2 separate regions of the Homo sapiens genome follow, and region 2 is linked to region 1. The links are contacts of gene promoters, found by promoter capture Hi-C in human tissues and cell types (Jung and others, 2019). All regions are on one chromosome and are shown on one strand. The core of a region is centred on a gene start or on the middle of the fragment in contact, and the rest is flanking DNA. Distances in the headings are between cores, read along the strand shown. Region 1 holds the start of PROCR (protein C receptor). Region 2 overlaps MMP24-AS1-EDEM2 (MMP24-AS1-EDEM2 readthrough).

The links. The method cuts DNA at HindIII sites, captures the fragments that hold promoters and counts their contacts. A contact is called where the count stands out against the background at its distance.
Region 2: a fragment that was not itself captured here is called in contact with the fragment with the promoter of PROCR in region 1 in 1 of the 25 tissues and cell types used here (aorta).

The regions. Positions count from the first base shown.
Region 1 is chr20:35,170,634-35,174,292 of GRCh38, forward strand. PROCR (protein C receptor) reads left to right here and starts at 1,439. Exons shown (of 4, transcript NM_006404.5): 1 at 1,439-1,591. The coding sequence starts at 1,522. All of the region lies in intron 4 of MMP24-AS1-EDEM2 (MMP24-AS1-EDEM2 readthrough), which reads right to left. RefSeq lists an enhancer at 3,552-3,659. The HindIII fragment of the contact is 10,554 bases long and covers 1-3,659 here.
Region 2 is chr20:35,132,260-35,136,215 of GRCh38, forward strand. It overlaps MMP24-AS1-EDEM2 (MMP24-AS1-EDEM2 readthrough), which reads right to left. Exons shown (of 15, transcript NM_001355008.2): 10 at 2,479-2,690. EDEM2 (ER degradation enhancing alpha-mannosidase like protein 2) reads right to left here. Exons shown (of 11, transcript NM_018217.3): 6 at 2,479-2,690. Among named protein-coding and RNA genes, the nearest start is that of EDEM2, 13 kb to the right of the region's middle. RefSeq lists an enhancer at 1,113-2,312. The HindIII fragment of the contact is 9,994 bases long and covers 1-3,956 here.

The DNA.
Region 1 (3,659 bases), core at 189-2,688:
CAACATAGCGAGACCACATCTCTAGTAAAAATAAAAAAAAATAGCTAGGCGTGGTGGCACAGTGGCACGTACCTTTAGTCTCAGCTACTCGGGTGGTTGAGGTGGGAGAATCACTTGAGCCCGGGAGGTCAAGCCTACAATTAGCTGTGATTGCTTCACTGCACTATAGCCTGGGCAACAGAGCTAGACCCTGTCTCAAAAAAATAATAATAAATTTTATATATATATATGAGGATGAAATTACATATGTATTATTTGAACAGAAGTGAAATCTTTTCTTTTTTTTTTTCAGACAGAATCTTGCCGCATGACCCAGGCTAGAATGCAGTGGTGTGATCTCGGCCCTCTGCAACCTCCACCTCCCAGGTTCAAGCGATTCTCATGCCTCGGTCTCCCAAGTAGCTGGGATTACAGGCATGCACCACCATGCCCAGCTAATTTTTGTATTTTTCGTAGAGACGTTCGCCATATTGGCCAGGCTGGTCTCAAACTCCTGGCCTCAAGTGATCTGCCCACCTCGGCCTCCCAAAGTGCCAGCAGCATGCTCGGAGGAGTGACTTTAAAGCTTTTCTACTTGCTTCCTAGAGTAAGGGACGCATTTTACACTGCTATCCAAAACTCATCATAGAAACATACACACACAAAACCAAAGCACACATATACAACTGAGCAAATATTTCATGACATAACACTTTCTCTTACTAAGGGTGACGCGCTGAAATTTTGTATTCTGTCCTATTTCATTTTTTAAAAATGGTAACCATGACCTGCTAAATTGATTTCATTGTCCACTAATAAATTATGACCTCAGTTTCAAAAAGATTGCTTTAGGTAACCAATCATCTTCTGAGATTTATACAGATTGCTCATAATTCTCTCCTATTTTTTAAAAACATGCTGCAGTGAACTGCTTTACACTCATTTTATGACTACTTCTGAGACCAAGATCCCGGATTATGTAATTGTTATTTACTTAAAATTCTGGTAAAATGTAGCCATTATACTGGAAAACTAAATTTTAATCTTGGATCTGTCACCACCATGATATATAAACTTTGGGCAAGTCCCTGCACCTCTCTGGACCTCAATCTCCCCATCAGCAACCTGCTGATCCTACTCCCAGGAGTGTGCTCTAAGTTGAAAGTAGATGCCCCACCCCCTGAGTCAGCGCCGGCAGGACTTCTCACCAAGCCCTTCTCCCCCTTTTCCGCTCCCTGTTCCTGGTTCCTAGGAAGCAGCCCAAGGAGAAGGGAAAAGGCAGGTCTGGGCAGGAGGGAGCAATGAAGGGCGGGGCAGAGGGAGGGCAGGAGGGAGGCCGGCCCCCTAGTAGGAAATGAGACACAGTAGAAATAACACTTTATAAGCCTCTTCCTCCTCCCATCTCCTGGCCTCCTTCCATCCTCCTCTGCCCAGACTCCGCCCCTCCCAGACGGTCCTCACTTCTCTTTTCCCTAGACTGCAGCCAGCGGAGCCCGCAGCCGGCCCGAGCCAGGAACCCAGGTCCGGAGCCTCAACTTCAGGATGTTGACAACATTGCTGCCGATACTGCTGCTGTCTGGCTGGGCCTTTTGTAGCCAAGACGCCTCAGATGGTGAGTCGGGGGCACATCTCCTGCCTCAGGATGGTTCTGGAGAATCTCAGTCTATCTGGGCACATGGCAAGACCACAGGAGAGCTTATCTCACAGCATCTGTGTCTGCAGCTGGCTAGATCTCTCTACAGGGCAGGCAGAGTCTTGGGGACTGGTTCGTGTCCCAAAGCCAAGGTGAGTTAGTACATTTAAGCCCCTGAAAAGGGGGAGATGAAAGAGGCTAGGGGAAACAGGATGACTGGAAACATGAGAAAGAAACCAGCAGAGAGGGTAGGAGAATCAGCCCCAGGGAGAGGGGAGAAAGGGGAACTGAGGGTGATGGTAGATAGGGGTACATCTAGGGGAGACGGGAAGAGGCTCAGAAGAGAAGAGAAATGGAGGGAATGGGAAGACCCTGGGAAAACTGATGGAAGAAGTGGGGGAAGAGTGGGGCAGAGAGAGGTTAGGGGAGGCTAGGGAAAATGGAAGGAGACTGGTCGCAGCTGGTGGAACTGGGGAGAAAGAGATGCTGTGCCTAATAGAACTTATGGGCGATCAGGCTACTGAAGTGGCCCTGTTTAAGCAGAAAAGGGAGTTATTACCCTCCATTATAATTGCACAGGGGCCTCCTTTCCCCTCTCTCACAATCCCCGTAACTTCAGTCTCCCCCTCAGAGAGGCAGCAAATAATAACCAGTATTCAATGAGTGCTCACTATGGTTAATACATGTATTGACCCATTTAACTTGCACAAACCCCTAAAGGTGGGTAATATTATTACTATCTCCATTTTATGAGGAGGAAACTGGGTCACAGAGTAGTTAAGGACCATGTCTAGGGTTATCCATAAATATACTTATTCACATCTGCAGATACAAAGCACAACTTCTCAAATGCAAACACAGACAGGACCCACTCACACACACAGATTTACAACCCCGGACTCATCCAAATGTGCTCTGGGCATCAACTCTGTGCCAGCCTCTTTTCTGGGTGTAGGAAGCAGAGATTACCAAGCATGGTTCCATAGCCTAGAGGAGTCCAGTGTGGCCTGTGTGTGTTTGGAGACAGCCAGGTAGTATCCCGTGAGATACACACTAATATATGGTGGTCTGGGATCACTGAAACAGACACACTGTGTCTCGTGGGGCATCAGAAAAAAATTTCCAAGAAGAGGGCAACTGAGCTGGGTCTTTTTTTCTTTGCTTTTCTTTCTTTTTTCTTTTTTTTTTTTTTTTTTTTTTTTGAGATGGAGTCTTGTGCTGTCACCCAGGCTGGAATGCAGTGGCACAATTTCAGCTAACTGTAACCTCCAACTCCCAGGTTCAGGCGATTCTCCTGCCTCAGCCTCCTGAGTAGCTGGGACTACAGGCATGTACCACCACGCCTGGCTAATATTTGTATTTTTAGTACAGATGGGGTTTCGCCATGTTGGCCAGGCTGGTCTTGAATCCCTGACCTCAAGTGATCCGCCCGCCTCGGCCTCCCAAAGTACTGGGATTACAGGCATGAGCCACCGCGCCCAGTCTCTGAGCTGGGTCTTAAATCATGAATAAACTTCGCCAGGCAGAAAAAGGGAGGCAGAGCAATCCTGACATGCTATTCATGTGTCAGCCAAAGGCAGCATGAGGAATCCCAACTAGTTTGATATATAAGCAGCGGGAAGCGGCCAGAAAAGGCAGCAGGGGCCAGGTCTCTAGCAGCCTTGAATGCCAGGCTAAAGACTCTGGACTTGATCCTGTGGGGAGGCAGTGTAGCAGAATGGCTGAGTGCTGGACTTGACTGCCTACGTGCAAACCTTGGCTCTGCTACACTATCTCTGTCTCAGTTTCCCATGTAGACTGGGGTTAATAATAGTAGCTATTGCATTAAGCCACTGGGGAAAGGCACAAAGATAATAATGTATGTAAAGCCCATTGCCCAGGTTATAATAAGCACTGAATCGACATTGGCTATGATTATTTTTGATTAATGAAGGGGAGGGGGTTATGGCACTGGAAGATTTTAAGTAGGAAAAGGACATGATCTCATCCCTGGGTCAGGTGGAGGTCGGAATAGAGAACGGGGAGATGAAGTAGAAAGTTACTACCC
Region 2 (3,956 bases), core at 1-2,500, 39 kb before region 1:
GGGGCAAAAGGGGACTTCACCAATGTCACTGAGTACCCTTTTTTGTATCCTTTGACTTTTTTTTTTTTAATTGTTCAGTCTCTGTAGAGACTGTGAAAAATTGGCAATGCCGGCCAGGCGCGGTGGCTCATGCCTATAATCCCAGCACGTTGGGAGGCTGAGGGGGGCAAAATCACTGGAGGTCAGAAGTCCGAGACCAACTTGGCCAACATGGTAAAACCCTGTCTCTAATAAAAACACAAAAATTAGCCAGGCATGGTGGTGTGTGCCTATAATCCCAGCTACTCAGGAGGCAGAGGCATGAGAATCACTTGAACCCAAGAGGGGGAGGTTGCAGTGAGCCGAGATCGTGCCACTGCACTCCAGCCTGGGCGACAGGGGGAGACTCTGTCTCAAAAAAATAAACAAAGATACGTATTTTTCTATTTTATTGTATTTATTTTATTTTTTGTATTTTTAGTAGAGACATGGTTTCTCCCTGTTGGTCAGGCTGGTCTCGAACTCCCGACCTCAGGTGATACGCCTGCCTTGGCCTCCCAAAGTGCTGGGATTACAGGCGTGAGCCACTGCGCCCAGCCAAATATATGTATTTTTCATATGGCTTAGACCCTCATGGAAGCTGGTAACTTCATCTGGTACTCAAAGAAATAGCTAACTGTTCCGCGTTGGTTTGTGTCCCCCCAGGAGCACAACCTCATTCTGCCTGAAAGTAGTTGATTTGGAAGGTAAGTCCTTGTAAACACCAGTAGAGGAGGGGGAAGTGAGGCAGGGCAAGGGAGGCGGCATTTAAGGGGTATGCCATCAGGCAGGTTTCCACCATGGGAACTGGAGTTCAATCTTGCTGGGGAGCTTAGGAATTCAGTGTAGAGCTCCAGCTTCGGAGTGATCCCACCCAAGGGGCAGGGAACTGGAATGTTTATCCACCAACTCCCATCAGTATCAGTTACCGGCTTGAGAGCTACTCATGGGTAGCATTAAATCCTGGTACCCTCAGCCAAAGGCAAGCAGAGTGGCTCCAGGCACCAGAGGAGACCCACAGGCAAAGAGGCGCAGGTGATGGCAGTTGGAAGACTGGCCAGTGTGCATGGAAATGTTAAGAGTTGAGAGGATATGGGCATGGCACCAACAGAGTCTACTACGGTCCCACTGCTGGAGCAAAACCTGCCTGAGATGGACTAAGGGATTTACTACAGGTCTCCAGCGGGGCACCTTTTTTTTTTTTTTGAGATGGAGTTTCGCTCTTGTTGCCCAGGCTGGAATGCAATGGCGCGATCTCGGCTCATCCCAACCTCCACCTCCCAGGTTCAGGCAATTCTCCTGCCTCAGCCTCCCAAGTAGCTGGGATTACAGGCATGCACCACCACGCCCGGCTAATTTTGTATTTTTTAGTAGAGATGGGGTTTCTCCATGTTGGTCAGGCTGGTCTCGAACTCCCAATCTCAGGTGATCCGCCCGCCTCAGTCTCCCAAAGTGCTGGAATTACAGGCGTGAGCCACCGCACCCAGCCTTAGGGGGGCACCTTCTTAAGGGATTTTCGGGGAGTCCTCACACAAGCTTTACTTTTCAAGCTGGATTAGCACCAGACTGCATAAAATGTGCCTAGACCTAAATGCAGTCTTCCTAAGTCAGAGTGACTCAGCAAAGTTGGTATTAATATATTAACGTTACTGCTGAAGTAACTGAGGACCAGAGAGGTTGAGTGACTTGCTCAGGGTCACACAGTTTCGATGTAGCAAGGCCAGGGCTTGAATCCAGTTCTGACTAAATCCAGTGTTATGTCCTGGATGGCTTTGGCTCAATTACTGTTAATCTTATTGATTATCCCATTTAGAAGCTGAAACTGACCTTAGAGATCATCTGGTCCAAAGTGTGTTCAATTTCCATGGGTTAATAGTACTGGAAGATAAAGGGAAGCTCTGGTGTTAAATAAGTTTGGGAAATGTTAAATTAAACAAAGTTGAATAGATTTCTTTACTAGAGGATTTTTATTCTGCTCATGTGCATTCTGACTCTCCAAAAAAGGGGGGGATATTATATCTAATATTCCCCTAACTTAATTGGCCAAGACTCATTTTTTCATGCAACTGCCACTCAGTATCTCTCAGAACCGGTGTCCTAAGAAACACAGCAAATACAGATAGACGCTAAAAATGAAGGCCGGACGAGCTGATGATCTGAAGCCGTCAAGTGAGTCAGGGGCATGAAACATACGACCCTCTTCCTAGAAATCAGAGAATCTCAACTGGTCAAAGCTGAATGCAGCCCCTGCTGCCTGCCAGAAACGTGCTTTCCCACTCTCCTCCCCACTCCAAGCCAAACTTGAATTGGAGGCTTGGTCTATTTTTGGTGTCCTGAGCCCAAATCCTGGACCACTCCCAAGGTCACCCTAAGTTTTCCTTGGCTTGACTGCAACTTATTGCTCAGAGCCCTGGGCCTCGTAAGCAGGGACTCAAACAGGAAGGGCAGCAGCGAACCTACCAGCCCGATATCTGACCGGCTCTCCCAGAGGCGCATCAAAGCCACTCTGGCCACATCTTCGAACACCGGGTCACCAGTGAGGCTGCTCAGGGTGGCAAATTCAACAATGAAGGTCCCAATCCCTGCCGTACAGGTGACAGGGGTCTCTCCTGGGTTCACGCCATGAAGTAAGTTCACTGTTCCATATGGCATGCCAGTGGGGGTCTGAAAGGCTGAACAATCGACAAATTATGATCCCGGACAGGAGCAGGGGGATAGGGATAGTTCTGATACACGCCCAAAGCCTGGGACCTTAGCCAGCACTTCCCTCTTTCTCCTGGGTATCCTGCTAGAGTCTGAGCCAGAGAAAGATAAATGTCATAACTGGAGGGCCCTGAGCAGCCACCCAGCCCAGATGCTGTCAAACACTGCTCTGCATAACCTTGGGTTCCTGCTCATCATGAGGGGGCAGGGAGCAGGCTGTGCTCCACACACACTCGCTTTAGCTAGAGAGCTTTACCTATTTTTATTTATTTTACACTACGCCTTCAAAGCCCAGGCAGGTAACTTATTGTGATGCAGGCAGGGTTTAAGCCACAGAAAGTGGTGGGGCTTGTGGCACAATGACAAGAGTAAGCCCCGTTCAAAGCCATTCATAGACTTTTGGCTCACGCCTATAATCCCAGCACTCTGGGTGGCCAAGGCAGGCAGATCACTTGAGGCCAGGAGTTCGAGACCAGCCTGGCCAACATGGTGAAACCCTATTTCTACTAAAAATACAAAAATTAGGCAAGCGTGGTGGTGCACGCCTGTAATTCTGGCTATCTGGGAGACTGAGGCACGAGAATCGTTTGAACCCAAGAGGCGTGGGCTGCAGTGAGCTGAGATTGCACCACTGCACTCCAGCCTGGGTGACAGAGCGAGACCCTGTCTCAAAATAATAATAATAATAAACAAAGCCATTCATAGACTTTAAATAAAGATCTCTGCTTTAAATAAAGAGTATAGGGGCTAAATTATTTTTAAAGGGAAGCAAAATAGGATATAAACCACTAAACCACGGATATAGTATGACCCTCGATTTATAGGTAGGGAAAACCATGCCTGTAAAGAAGTAATTCAGCCACAGGTCACACAGAGAGAGTCAAACAGAGCTGGGATGGGAACGCCTCCCCTGTGCCCACCCCAGCCCCAGTCCAGTTCTCTGCCCGCCCCACCCAAGTGGCACCCAAGTGCCTTCTGGTTCAAGACGAGAACTGGACAACCAGCCAGAGGCAGAGATTTCCTCTCTGGGCCTAAAGGTCAAACAACTCCAGAGCAGCCTATGCGTCACCAAACTGTGAACAAAGGTGTCGACACTTCCAAGAACCACAGGGTCTAGCAACTGTGTCTGCCACAGACAAGAAACTTGCAATCTGGCAGGCACCAGCGGGAGAGCAAGTCACAACCAGGAAGGGCTCTAAGCAATATTTCAGAAAAAGTCAGGCTGTAATAAAAAG